4 separate regions of the Homo sapiens genome follow, and all the other regions are linked to region 3. Evidence: promoter capture Hi-C in 16 types of primary human blood cells and fetal thymus (Javierre and others, 2016). All regions are on one chromosome and are shown on one strand. The core of a region is centred on a gene start or on the middle of the fragment in contact, and the rest is flanking DNA. Distances in the headings are between cores, read along the strand shown.

Region 1 (3,385 bases), core at 454-2,953, 3.2 Mb after region 3:
AATGTCAGTCACAAAAAGACAAATATTGTATGATTCCACTTATATGAGTTACCTAGAGTAATCAAATTCATAGAGACAGAAATCAGAATGATGGTTATCAGGGATGGTGGTAGGGGGAGGGGGATTGTTGTTCAATTAGTACAATATTTCAGATTTGCTAGATGAAAAAGTTCTGGAGATGTATTTTACAACAATATGAAATACACCCAACACTAGTGAACTGTATACTTAAAAATGATTAAGATAATAAATTTCATGTTGTGAAATTTTTTTTAAATGCAGTCTACGACTCTACTTGTATGAGGTACCTACAGTTTAATTCAGAGACTGAAAGAATGCTAGTTGCCAAGGGTTGAGGGGGGAGGGAAGAATGGGACATTATAATTGTTTTTTTCTTTTGAGACAGGGTCTCATTCTCTCACCCAGGCTGGAGTGCACTAGTGCAATCACACCCATTGCAGCCTCTACCTCTTGGACTCAATCAATCCTCCTGCCTCAGCCTCCTGAGTAGCTGGGACTACAGGCACAGGCCACCATACCCGGCTAATTTTTGTATCTTTTGTAGAGACAGGGACTCACTATGTTGCCTAGGCTGGTCTTGAACTCGTTGGTTCAAGCAATCCTCCCACCTCGGCCTCCCAAAATGCTGGGATTACAGGCATAAGCCACCGCCCCCAGTCTGTGAAGTTATCATTTACTGGGCAGAGTTTGTTTTGTAAGATGAAAAAGAGTTCTCGAGATGATGTTTGCACAATAATGTAAATGTACTTAATACCACTGAAGTGTACACTTAAAATGGTTAAGAAGGCATATTGTGTATATTGTATCACAATTGAAAAATAACTTTTAAAAAAGAATCTACAATAGCTCCCTATTACTCACAGAATTCAATCAGTTTGGAATTCAAGATCTTGCATAATGTGCAAGGCATTGACCACTAGGCAAAATAAGGCTCCTTACAAAAAACACTGAACAAACCAATCTAGGAGAATCAGAACAACACTACATTTGTATGTTTGTGCCACAGAGTTGTACCATAAAGTAAAGCCCTCCTTGTTACAGTACTTTGGTGGCCTCCTAGGTAATAAAGGCCAGTTTTCAACTTGCTTCCAAACCAGTTCTAGTCTCCTCATTCTAAACTAAAGCAGACATAAACACCAGCTACTCTAACCTACTTTATTAAACATATGGAAAATCCAAAATAACCAGGTTGTGAAAAAAGCCTGCAGCAAAATAAAGGAAGAGCAATGCGAACTGAAAAACTAAGCCCAAAATAAATAAAGACAATTCCAGTCATAAAAGATTATATTCCAAATATCACAATTAGCATTCCTTAAAGAGATTCAAAGACAGTACATCCATAAAAGAAAAGGATTTTTTAAATTAATAAGACAAAGCTCCTAAAAATTAAAAACTTGATTGTTAAATTTTTTTCAAAAGTTTTAAGGGCGGAGGAAGGAAAAAAAATTTTTTTTCAAGTTTTAAAATTAATATCTAGGCAATCTCAGAAAGAACAGAAAGTCAAGAAAAAATATAAAAATTACGAGTGAACAACTCAGAACAACCAACATCTAATAAAGTATTCCAAAGAAAGAGAGACAAAAGAGACAAGAAAATTATCAAAGAAATATAAGAAAACTTCCCAGAGCTTAAGGGAGATATAAGTGTTCAAACTAAAAGGGCCAAAAAGAAATGCCCTACACACGAATAAAATGAAATCCCATTAAGTCTTTTGAGATTTCTAAACATGAAAGATAAAGAGAAGACTGTAAAAATATTCCCAAGAGCAAAGAAACAGATCACTTATAAAATAACAAAAATCAGACTTTTCATCAGTAACACTAGATACTAAAAGGCAAGGGATTGGCCAGGTGCAGTGGCTCACGCCTGTAATCTCAGCACTTTGGGAGGCTGAGGCGGACAGATCACGAGGTCAAGAGAACAAGACCATTCTGGCCAACATGGTGAAACCCTGTCTCTATTAAAAGTACAAAAATTAGCTGGACGTGGTGGCGCACACCTGTAGTCCCAGCTACTCGGAAAGCTGACGCAGGATAATCGCTTGAACCTTGGAGGCGGAGGTTGCAGTGAGCCGAGATCGTGCCACTGCACTCCAGCCTAGCGTCAGAGTGAGACTCCCTATCAAAAAAAAAAAAAAAAAAAAAAAAGCAAGGGATCAATATCTTCAAGTTCTGAATATAATTTTAATTAATTCAATAAATATATACATTAGGCCAGTGTGGCAGGAGAGAGCAAGGAACAAAATTAAATATCAGCCAGGCGTGGTGGCTCACACCTGTAATCCCAGCACTTTGGGAAGGCAAGGTGGGCGGAGCTCTTGAGGTCAGGAGTTCGAGACCAGCCTGGCCAACATGGTGAAACCCCGTCTCTACTAAAAATACAAAAATTCGCCAGGCGTGGTGGTGCATGCTTGTAATCCCAGCTACTCAGGAGGCTGTGGCACGAGAATCACTTGAACCTCAGAGGCAGAGGTTGCAGTAAGCCGAGATCATGCCACTGCCCTCCATCCACCCTGGGCAACAGAGCAAGACTGTTCTCCAAAAAAAAAAAAAAAAAAAAAAAACAAGAATGAAATATATTCCAAACAAGAAATAAAAGTAAACTGTTTATATATTGGATACATATCTCAGTCTATTATGTTGCCCATAAATATTATCATACCAGACTGTAGTCTCTCATTTTATTTTGACAATTTGTCATGTATAAGAGCTTTTATGAGATTTTACATATAAGAGCTATTTTATCTTTTTTTCCTTTATTTTTTTCTATCCATCTAAACTTAAACCAGGTTTTCAAAACAATATTTAATTTTCCTTTTTTTCAAAGATGCCTTTCTAAGTATTTAACTGTATTCTTGTTTCTTACTTGCTCTCTTTTAAGTTTTTCTTTTATCTTTTTTTTTTCTTTTGAGACAAGGTGTCACTCTGTCACCCAGGCTGAAGTACAGTGGCGTGATCATGGCTTATTGCAGCCTCAACCTCCCAGGCTCAAGCAATCCTCTCACCTCAACCCCCTAAACAGCTAGGACTACAGGCACACACCACCATGTCTGGCTAATTTTTTTATTTTTTGTAGAGACAGAGTTTCGTCTGTTCCCCAAGCTGGTCTTGTACTCCTGGGCTCAAGTGATCCACCTGTCTTGGCCTCCCCAAGTACTGGGATTACAGGCACGAGCCACCACTTCCAGCCTCTAAGTTTTTCAAAACGAAAATAACTCATGAAAATAACAGCTTTCTAAAATTCAAACAATTTTTCTAAACTACAAAAAAATAATTAAAAATCACCCAACATCTCATCTTCCAGAGTTAACCAGAATTTATTTTTTGGTATCTCACAAATAACTACATAAACATTCACACACATA
Region 2 (3,386 bases), core at 631-3,130, 3.2 Mb after region 3:
AAGGTACTATCTCTCACCCATCAGTTTAGCAAAAAGCAATAAATTAAATTATTAATCAGTACGTATTAGCAAGGATATGGAAGAATAAAGTACTCCCATATACCTGCTGATGAGAATGTAAATTGTTACAAGCACTGTGGAGAGCTGAAAATGCAAACAAGTTCCTCTTACAGTTAAACAAATAAATCTGAATAAACATCCTTCTTTGCTCCCCGCCAAAACCCACTAAAACAAGAATTTAAAAATGTAAAAGATGTACATGAACATGGACAAAAAGAACGGGAAATGACACACAGGATATAAGAGGTTTCAACAAAATTTACTAAAAGGTGAAAAGTGAATGAAAAAGAGAAAGCCAAAATCTAACTGGCTAAGAGGGAAGGGAGCCAAAGCAGAAGCCAAATCATGCCAGAGAAGCCAGAAAAGGATCTGAATTAAGAAACATGAGGTACCTCTGAAGGTAGTTCAATGTGAGGCTGGAACGAGAAGGTATGGTTGAAAATCCTTCAAAGAAAACTTCAGGCTCCCAGATCCTCTACTCTGAAGGTAGGTTCACTCTCAAAAAAACGTCAGAGATTGGCCGGGCACAGTGGCTCACGCCTGTAATCCCAGCACTTTGGGAGGCCGAGGCGGGTGGATCACCCGAGGTCAGGAGTTCCAGACCAGCCTGACCAACATGGAGAAAGCCCGTCTCTACCAAAAATACAAAATTAGCCAGGCAGAGTGGTTCATGCCTGTAAATCCCAGCTACTCAGGAGGCTGAGGCAGGAGAATCGTTTGAACCCGAGAGGCGGAGGTTGTGGTGAGCCGAGATCATGCCACTGCACTCCAGCCTGGGTAACAAGAGCAAAACTCCACCTCAAAAAAAAAAAAAAGAAAAAAGAAAAAAATGTCAGAGATATCAAATATAACTAAGGTGGAGATCAAGCACTGCTAAGTGGGGTAGGGAGTGCTAATTGACTACATCATTATCAGTCTATCCTATTCCTTATTAACAAAACTGTGTCCCTTTAGCTGAGTATACAGCTGCTCATAATGAAAATTCCTTTTCCTAGCATCCTATCAGAAGGACACACAAAATGGCCGGTAACATATAGGCAGGGTGTTGTGGAACAGTTGCCAGGAAACACCCTAAAGGGCGAGCCCCGTGCCTTTCTCCATCCTACTACCTGGAACTTGGATATGATTGCAACCTGGACCTGAGAACAATATTCTAGGTTTCAAACAGCAGAAAGCTGAAAGGAATCTGAGCCCCAATTAACTCCACAGAAACACTACACCAGCCCTGGGCTACCAGAACTACCTACCTGCCAACTTTTTACAAAATAAAATCTTAACTCAGATAATTTGGGATCTACCACACAGAAATGAACCTAACCCTAATGCAGGTGTCATACTAAAAATAGATGTACCTGATAGACTGCATACATGATTGTTAAGATCCCCAACCTCCATTCCCCAGGATAAAATTTAGAAAGCTGATAAGCAGACTTTTTCATGGAAGACTAGAAGCTTTCTCTCTAAAGAAACTGATCACCACAAAAGAAATTACACAATGCTGGTAAATGGTATATCTGGAGCTTCAAATAAAATACAAAATAAAAATAAAAAACCAGCAGGGTTCCCATTTGATCACCCTAGGTCACCATTTACCAAGGTCTAATCAATTTTTAGTAAAAGCCACTTTATAAAGGAAGAAGTATCATATAAAAGGGTTTTTTGTTGTTGTTGTTTTGTTTTGTTTTGAGACAGCGTCTCAGTATGTAGTTCAGGCTGGTCTCCAACTCGTGGGCTCTAGTGATCCTTCTGCCTCAGCTGGAATTATGAGTGCATGCTACCACACCCAGAACAAATGAGTTTTTAAGTACTCATTCTCATTATTATAATATGCATAAATGTATATTTTAGGAAATTTTAATAGAACACCTACAAGTTAGTAATAAGAAAACAAGTCTATCACTGGAGCAATATATGGAGCTGCATATCAGGACTTATCAAGCTGGCTTCAATTATTTAGGAATTAGTTTAAACTCTGTTTTTCAAAGTTCATTAGTTTAAAAAGTTCATTAAGTTAAAAAATTAATGTTAAGTTTACACAATTATCCAAACATAATTATTAAAAATAAGATATTCTGCCGGATTTGAATGAACATCACACAACTGATTCACATCTAATTTTACAGCGTATATACCTACAAAACTTTTGTACCTACCTCCATTATAAACTTTAGTAATATCTCCAAGCTTACCCTAACCCCTCTAGAAGCCCAAAAAGTGAAAATACTTAATATTTGTTGAATTAATGTGGCAGGAGGGGATTATACAGAGGTGACTAAAGAAACATGGTTAGTTTCAAAGAGACTATATCTACAACAGGTCCACTACCTAGGAACAGTTCACACATTTAAGTCTGGTAAAAAGAATAAAGGAAGGAACAAATGAATTAAGTTTTAAAGTTGACAGGAGAACCGTATCCAAACCATTATCCACCAACCTCCCATGTCTGTTAGCTTAAAACCCATGCACCAAGTGCTTCTGAAGACCCCAAATCTGAGGGCTGGAACCAAATTTGATATATTCAACAAGATTTTTATCACAGGGCTCATTATACCACAACTATGTTTTCTTAATATTACTAATGGAAAATCCTCACTGAATGCTATTCATGCCTACATAAAAATTACCTTGAAATTGTTTAATTATGTTAATTCTAAAGAATGGCTAAGTATTTCTAGGTTAACTTTAAAAAAAATGCTTATGCTATTAGACTAATGATCCTTGCAGCCCAACAGTTGTAGCTCTAAAATTTGACACCAAGGGGTCTTAATTCCTCTGAGCAATCTATTCAGTACCCCTTCCTTCGGAGAACCAACCCTTCCCCAGTCCGGACTCATCTTGCTTTGATCCATGGGGTAAGGAGAAATTAAACCGGCTGGATGACTCAGATAAGGGCAATTAACTTAGCCCATTTCCCACCATCATAAATGGGTGCAAACAAACCCAGGAGCCTCCCATGGACTTCCACCAGAGCTAAGGAGAAAAGCACTCCCTTCTGTAAGATACTGAGTGTTGCGGACGATTGTTATTACACTACAGCCATCCCTCTCAATACATGAACAAAGCTTTCGAGGGAAGCATCACGGAGGCAAGACGATCTCCAGTGATACCTAAAGCTAAGGAAGGAATATCCCTAGACTTTTCAGTTAGCAGAATAAGTCTTACTTTTTTTTTTTTTTTTTTTTTTTTTTGAGATGGAGTCTCACTCTGTCGCCCAGGCTGGAGTGCAGTGGCGCGATCTCGGCTCACTGCAAGCTCCGTCTCCCAGGTTCACACCATTCTCCTGCCTCAGCCTCCCGAGTAGCTGGGACTACAGGCACCCGCCACCA
Region 3 (3,294 bases), core at 685-3,184:
CTGAGGCAGGCGGTTCACCTGAGATCGAGAGTTTTGACACCAGCCTGACCAACATGGAGAAATCCCATCTCTACTAAAAATACAAAATTAGCCAGGTGTGGTGGCACATGCCTATAGTCCTAGCTACTCGGGAGGCTGAGGCAGGAGAATCTCCCTTGAACCTGTGAGGAGGAGGTTGCAGTCAGCTGAGATCGCGCCACTGCACTCCAGCCTGGGTGACAAAGTGAGACTCCGTCTAAAAAAAAAATAAAAAAAAAATAAAAATCTCCACTTAAGTAATTAATTACAAGCCACCAAGCTAGTATGTTTAGTTTTGTTTTACAGTATTCTGGCACAGTACAATAATAGGCCCAGTTGTCCTGTCAATTCATTCTAACACAGTAGAAACAAAAGCCAGTCTGCCATTGCTTCTGTTACTACTATTACAAGTGAAAAGGAAAAAACATCCCCAGGTTCTTGCTCCTTCTTTCATCTACCTTCCAATTCTCTTCCTTTCCTTCAGTGGTCCTTTCTACCCACTGTTCTCTCAGTCCCATTGCCCTGAATAGTTTATACTTTCACAATAAATCCCTCTAGAAACCTACCACTCCAAACTGAAGCATTCTTTTTTCTATTAACGTACGGACGTCACTAACAACTGATTTTAACAAAATAATCTGACATAACGTTTAGGTGTATTTTGGGCTTGTCTTTTTGGAAGTTTATAGTCTGCACTCACTTTTCCTTCCACATGTTTCAAATCTCTTCCCTTCACATTTTTTGTCACAGTTATAAGCTTCAAAATCCAAGGATGACCCATAAAATCTGGTATCTTCGAAGTGCGTCCTCCGAAATAAAGGACAGGAAAACACTAAGAGGGGTCACTAATTTAACAATAGGGTAATCAGAAGTCAAGCCCAAAGTGCATCAGCCTGTCCTAAAACTACAAACGATTTGTTTTGAAAGAAACTCAAAATGAATTGTGCCTTTGGATGTGAACAGATGATTTCTGGAATGAATGAAAAGCAAGAAAACAGTAACACAGTACCCTCTGAAAAAAGGTTTTTCTCCCCATCTTAAGCTTTTATACATCTTTTAACTTCGCATGTTCTGCATACATAATTTTAAATTAAGTGGCTTCCTTACTTAGTTAACGGTACCATTAAGACAACACTACGTATATTCCTCCACTTACACTCCAAACAACCCTTAAAAGGTCTCGGGGGAGAGCGGTAAAGAAACACACGGTCTGCGGAAAAGGAGAAGGCCTGACTGGCACGTCAGGGAACCCGGCGGCCTCCGCCGTTGTGGGCATGCGCTGTACATGCCTCTGCCCGGGCAAAGAGGCGTGTCCGCGCCATTGAGTGACGCGGCCCGTTAAGTCGTAGCCCTTAAGTGAGCCCGGCTCGACTCCCTCCGTACCAGTTCTCAATCATCTCTTTGATAGCATTAGCTGGCCGCTGGATAACTTCCCCCGCCGCGATGCGGTTCACCACTGTCTCGTCCAGCCGCCGAATAACCCCTGCCACGAACGACATTTTGGCGCCAGAAGAGCCAAGGAAACGTCTAGATGCTCAACGGAAGTGCCTTCAGCCAATCACCTCAGTGCCTCGTGCTCACGTTCTTCCTTCAGCTGTAGCTTACGCCATCCAGCCCCACCCTTCAGCGGCAGCTATTGATTGGACAGCTTGAATGCCAGTCAAATTTCTCAACTCTGTGGGTTGCTGGGTCTCTTCGTCCCTCCCTGAAGCGGCTACTGCCCGCTACCTAGAAGGATATGCGCTTGCGCGTTAGAGATCGCTGTCCGCTCTTCCTATTGGTTCGTTTTTAGGAGCTCGGGGAATACGAAATATCCAGCCAATAGGAGCAGAGATGCCGGAACCGGGCTTGTGTGCCTCTGCTGAGGTGATCTGGCGCAGAGCGGAGGAGGTGCTTGGCGCTTCTCAGGCTCCTCCTCTCCCCTTGCGGCCTTTCTAACGTTGGCCCTGCTCTTGTGGCCTCCCGCAGAATGTGGATGACGCCCAAAAGAAGCAAGATGGAAGTCGACGAGGCTCTAGTTTTCCGGCCCGAGTGGACCCAGCGTTATTTGGTGGTGGAGCCTCCGGAGGGCGATGGGGCCCTGTGCCTGGTCTGTCGCCGCCTCATCGTAGCTACCCGCGAACGCGACGTCAGGCGCCACTACGAGGCTGAGCACGAATACTACGAGCGGTATGTGGCGGACGGCGAGCGCGCGGCCCTGGTGGAGCGTCTGCGTCAGGGCGACTTGCCCGTGGCCTCCTTCACTCCTGAAGAGAGAGCTGCTCGTGCAGGCCTCGGGCTCTGCCGCCTCTTGGCCTTGAAGGGTCGCGGCTGGGGTGAGGGGGACTTTGTATACCAGTGCATGGAGGTGTTGCTGAGAGAGGTACTGCCCGAGCATGTAAGCGTCCTGCAAGGCGTTGACTTATCTCCAGATATCACAAGGCAGAGGATCCTGAGCATTGACAGGAATCTACGCAACCAGCTTTTTAACCGAGCCAGGGACTTTAAAGCCTATTCTCTTGCCTTGGACGACCAGGCTTTTGTGGCCTATGAGAACTACCTCCTGGTCTTTATCCGCGGTGTAGGCCCTGAGTTGGAGGTGCAAGAAGATCTTCTGACCATAATCAACCTGACTCATCATTTCAGTGTTGGTGCGCTCATGTCGGCAATCCTAGAGTCCCTGCAGACAGCAGGGCTTAGCTTGCAGAGAATGGTTGGACTGACCACGACCCATACTTTGAGGATGATTGGTGAGAACTCAGGACTCGTCTCATACATGAGAGAAAAGGCCGTAAGCCCCAACTGTTGGAATGTCATTCATTATTCAGGATTTCTTCACTTGGAACTGTTGAGCTCCTATGATGTAGATGTTAATCAGATCATAAATACCATATCCGAATGGATAGTTTTGATTAAGACCAGAGGCGTTAGGCGACCTGAATTTCAGACTTTACTAACGGAATCTGAATCAGAGCATGGTGAAAGGGTTAATGGACGATGTCTGAACAATTGGCTTAGGAGAGGGAAAACTTTAAAACTAATATTCTCTCTAAGAAAAGAAATGGAAGCGTTCTTGGTTTCAGTAGGGGCAACAACAGTCCACTTCTCAGACAAACAATGGCTTTGTGACTTTGGCTTCTTGGTGGACATTATGGAACACCTTCGAGAACTCAGTGAAGAATTACGAGTTAGTAAAGTCTTTGCTGCTGCTGCCTTTGACCATATTTGTACTTTCGAAGTTAAGCTGAATTTATTTCAAAGACATATTGAGGAAAAAAATCTAACAGACTTTCCTGC
Region 4 (3,191 bases), core at 622-3,121, 3.3 Mb after region 3:
GATTGTGTTTACCCACATCTAAACTTAGTTCCAGAAGCATAAATTGACTTCAGTGCTACCAGTCCTCACCTTGAATGCCAGAAGATTCTCACTTCACTTCTCTGAATAGAAAGTGTTTTAAGTATCTTCTCCTTATTTTTCTAGCAGTTACCTCTGTCAATTTCTGTAGAAACCAGAAACAGTAGGAAGAGATTTGACAAGATGCTTGAACTTGTGTGTTTTCATAACATGATCGTTTGTGTATTTCAGACTAAGTTAGTTACAACTCTAAGGAAAAAAGTAGAATACCTATAAAATCTAAGGTATTCATTGCTTGGGTATGGTTTATTTCGAAAGCACTGTTATTCTTGTATTTTGTGACATTATTTCTGTTACCTTCAAAATAGAGCTTTTTTGTTTCTTTAGTTCCCATTACTTTTTCTCTTGTTTATCACTCCATAAACAGGGAGGTTCGGAGTTAGTCTCTGGCATTTATTTTTTTTGAAGAAGACTTCAAAGATTGTTTGCATTGATGATTACAGTCTGAATATTGCAAGTATGGTCAAATGTGAAAGTTAAAGTCATATTGGTCATAATGTTTTTGATGATAATATGCTGTCACTGAAAAATTCCTTAATGAATTAATTAACAAGAGGATGCTAGAAGAAGGAAACCTATTTATCACGTTGGAAAATCCCAGGGCCCAGGCCTCCTCTTCCCTGTTTTTATTCTCTCTTTCTTAGTGATCCAACCCCACTCAAAGGCTTTAAATGATAACTCTTTGCTAATGATTCCCAGTATGTAGGTCTAGCCATCATTCATCTCTCCTTTGGGTTAGGTCTAGACTTGTTAGCCTGTGGCCTTGATGACGTTCCCATTTGGCTGCCTAATAGGCATTTCAAGCTTCCTATGTCCAAAAATGAAACCCTGTTATCTTTTCTTGCCTCTCAGATCTGTTCCTTCTCCAGTCTTAGCCATTTTAGTCAGTGGCACCATCATCAGCTCAAGCTAGAAACCTGACTTGATTTCCTATTCTAACTGATCAAACATTTCTACTTCTGAAATACTAACATATCCCAAATTTGCTTATTTTTTCCATCTCCACTGCTAATATCCTCTCTAAATCTCCTTTAGCTTTTGCCTGGACTACTTCTGTAGACTTCTGTTCCATGTTTGCCCCCAGGAATCCATTTGCTACTCAGAAATCATAGGGATCTTCTTAAAATGTAAATTAGATCATGTCACAACAGGAAGAAGATAATGAAATTTCTCCCCTTAAGGAGCCTATAATCTAGTGATGGAGATAGATCATAAACAAGTAAATAAATGGATATACAATGTGGTTACAGTTGGTAATGGAGGAAATATAACTACTCCTTGTTTAATGAGTTTAAATTATTCCTAAATACCCTGCTGCCAAGTGAAAGACCATTAGATGAAAAAATTATTTTCACCAGTGTTAATGAGAAAAATTACGGTGTGTTTCATCCCAGCCCATGATACTTGAGTAGTTTTCCCAGGTAGAAAAATATATCAATTGAATACTGAAAACAAATTTTTATAAGTAACAATTTGAAGGGAAATTGTACATGAAGTAATATCATGGAGTTTAATTCAACTTCTTCTTTATTTCTGCACAATTTTTCCCCACAAAATTTTCAGGCCTTTGTTGATTCATTTTTATTGCACACTAAAACTAAAACTAAAACTGTAAATAAAGTGATAGAAACAGGAAAACATTTTAGGACAGAGTAAAGGCTCGGCATGAAATCTTGTGGAAATAGTTCATGCACACAAAGAGCTGTTGAAGATACTACCTTTTCTCTCCCTCACTTGGTGCATTTATGCAAAATAAATTGTTTTGGGTCTGTCCAAAAATGGCACGCAATTCAAATTTGTTCCACCTGATATTCTGTGACCAGAAACTATTATGGTAAACAAAATTTTTTGGTGTGTCTTTGCCTGAAACCATAATAATGACACATCATACATCTTACAGCATATTGATTTAGAGTGTTTCGTGATGAAAAAAATCATTTTACTAAATACAAGAAACCAAAGGATTTGTTGTAAAGGTGATATAACTTTTTTATAGCTAAAAGTTGTCATCTGAACAGTCATTAAGTGAGTTATAGAGTATTTGATGGTTTTTTGAACTCAACTTGTTATATTGTAAAAGTAAGTTAGGCAGAGTCCCTAAATGCAGTAGAATTAGCTCTGCTGTTAGAAGAAAACTGGATTTAAAATCTGTCAGATCGTGACTAGAAGGAGGGAACACCAGCCCTGTAGGAAAGAAAAGACTGAAAGTTGGAGACCCCCTGCGATTATGGCAGGCGCTGGTGTCGTTATGGAGCTTTCTAGACAGTCTCCTGCACAAACCAAGGATGTAAACACTAACAGTGTTGGTGGCTGTAATTGCAAATCCTTTTCTCTTTCACTGTGAAAAAAACTATGCATAATTCTTATTTGTCGAGTGTGTGTTTAGGACCTAATGCAGTCTTGGCCATGCAATCATTAGTAAAGTATTTTCTGGCTTCTCTGTTTGAAACAGTTGCTAGGAAAAGAATTGTTCTTGGAGGCTGGCAATAAAATAAAACCTGGAAATGAGGCTTTGAAATTACCTTAATATTTGGCTTCTATGAGTCAATAAGATAACTTCCAGTCTAGTTTTGTATATTTTTATAACATACCCTTTGGTGAAAAGCAAAGCAGCTCTTTTCTTTGGTTGATTTTTAAAATGTATCTGTTTGTGATCATGAGCTCCAGGGCCTGCCTTCAGAGCTTGACAATGTGCTGATGGTTGTCAGCTTGGATAGAGGGTGCTCTGCGCCCCTGCAGCTGCGCATTGGCTAGGTTCTGTCTCCACCAGAAGTAAGCTTTGTTCCGTGTGGCCCTGCTGTCCGCGCACAGAGCAGCCTTTGATGGGCTGCCTTTGACGTGATTTGTTTACGGCAGCCAGAAATGCTTCCTGCATAATGAGAGCAGTTAATCATGGAAACTGGGCTATTCCTGTTTATGCACTTCTAGCAATCTTCTGTTGTAAATATTAAAAGGTAACGACAAAAGGATGAAAACCTTTTTAAAAAGGCGCAAATCAGTTAATCCATCAGATCATGTGATTGCTACTGATTACATGGATATCTTTAGGGAAGCAGAAAATGATTGCTGAACACATGCCTTGTGTTTTGATGATTGCATTAAAAGTCCCCCAG

Evidence for each region. Contacts are between HindIII fragments. The CHiCAGO score rates a contact against its expected background, and 5 or more counts as called.
Region 1: a contact is called between a fragment that was not itself captured here and the fragment with the promoter of EPM2AIP1 in region 3, in 5 of 17 cell types (M2 macrophages, M1 macrophages, M0 macrophages and 2 more). The highest score is 13.6, in M2 macrophages.
Region 2: a fragment that was not itself captured here is called in contact with the fragment with the promoter of EPM2AIP1 in region 3 in 12 of 17 cell types (M2 macrophages, M1 macrophages, M0 macrophages and 9 more); the score reaches 34.7 in M2 macrophages.
Region 4: a fragment that was not itself captured here is called in contact with the fragment with the promoter of EPM2AIP1 in region 3 in 6 of 17 cell types (M2 macrophages, M0 macrophages, M1 macrophages and 3 more); the score reaches 15.7 in M2 macrophages.

Annotation. Positions count from the first base shown.
Region 1 is chr3:33,817,297-33,820,681 of GRCh38, reverse strand. The region is part of intron 3 of PDCD6IP (programmed cell death 6 interacting protein); the gene reads right to left. Among named protein-coding and RNA genes, the nearest start is that of PDCD6IP, 20 kb to the right of the region's middle. The HindIII fragment of the contact is 5,968 bases long and covers 1-3,385 here.
Region 2 is chr3:33,799,982-33,803,367 of GRCh38, reverse strand. All of the region lies in intron 1 of PDCD6IP (programmed cell death 6 interacting protein), which reads right to left. Among named protein-coding and RNA genes, the nearest start is that of PDCD6IP, 3.0 kb to the right of the region's middle. The HindIII fragment of the contact is 732 bases long and covers 1,515-2,246 here.
Region 3 is chr3:36,991,771-36,995,064 of GRCh38, reverse strand. EPM2AIP1 (EPM2A interacting protein 1) reads left to right here and starts at 1,934. Exons shown (of 1, transcript NM_014805.4): 1 at 1,934-3,294. The coding sequence starts at 1,988. MLH1 (mutL homolog 1) reads right to left here and starts at 1,547. Exons shown (of 19, transcript NM_000249.4): 1 at 1,402-1,547. The coding sequence starts at 1,517. RefSeq lists enhancers at 846-1,357, 1,274-1,493, 1,864-2,213, 2,334-2,653, 2,684-2,763. The HindIII fragment of the contact is 4,668 bases long and covers 1,063-3,294 here.
Region 4 is chr3:33,659,348-33,662,538 of GRCh38, reverse strand. The region is part of intron 7 of CLASP2 (cytoplasmic linker associated protein 2); the gene reads left to right. Among named protein-coding and RNA genes, the nearest start is that of CLASP2, 57 kb to the left of the region's middle. RefSeq lists an enhancer at 3,123-3,172. The HindIII fragment of the contact is 1,973 bases long and covers 885-2,857 here.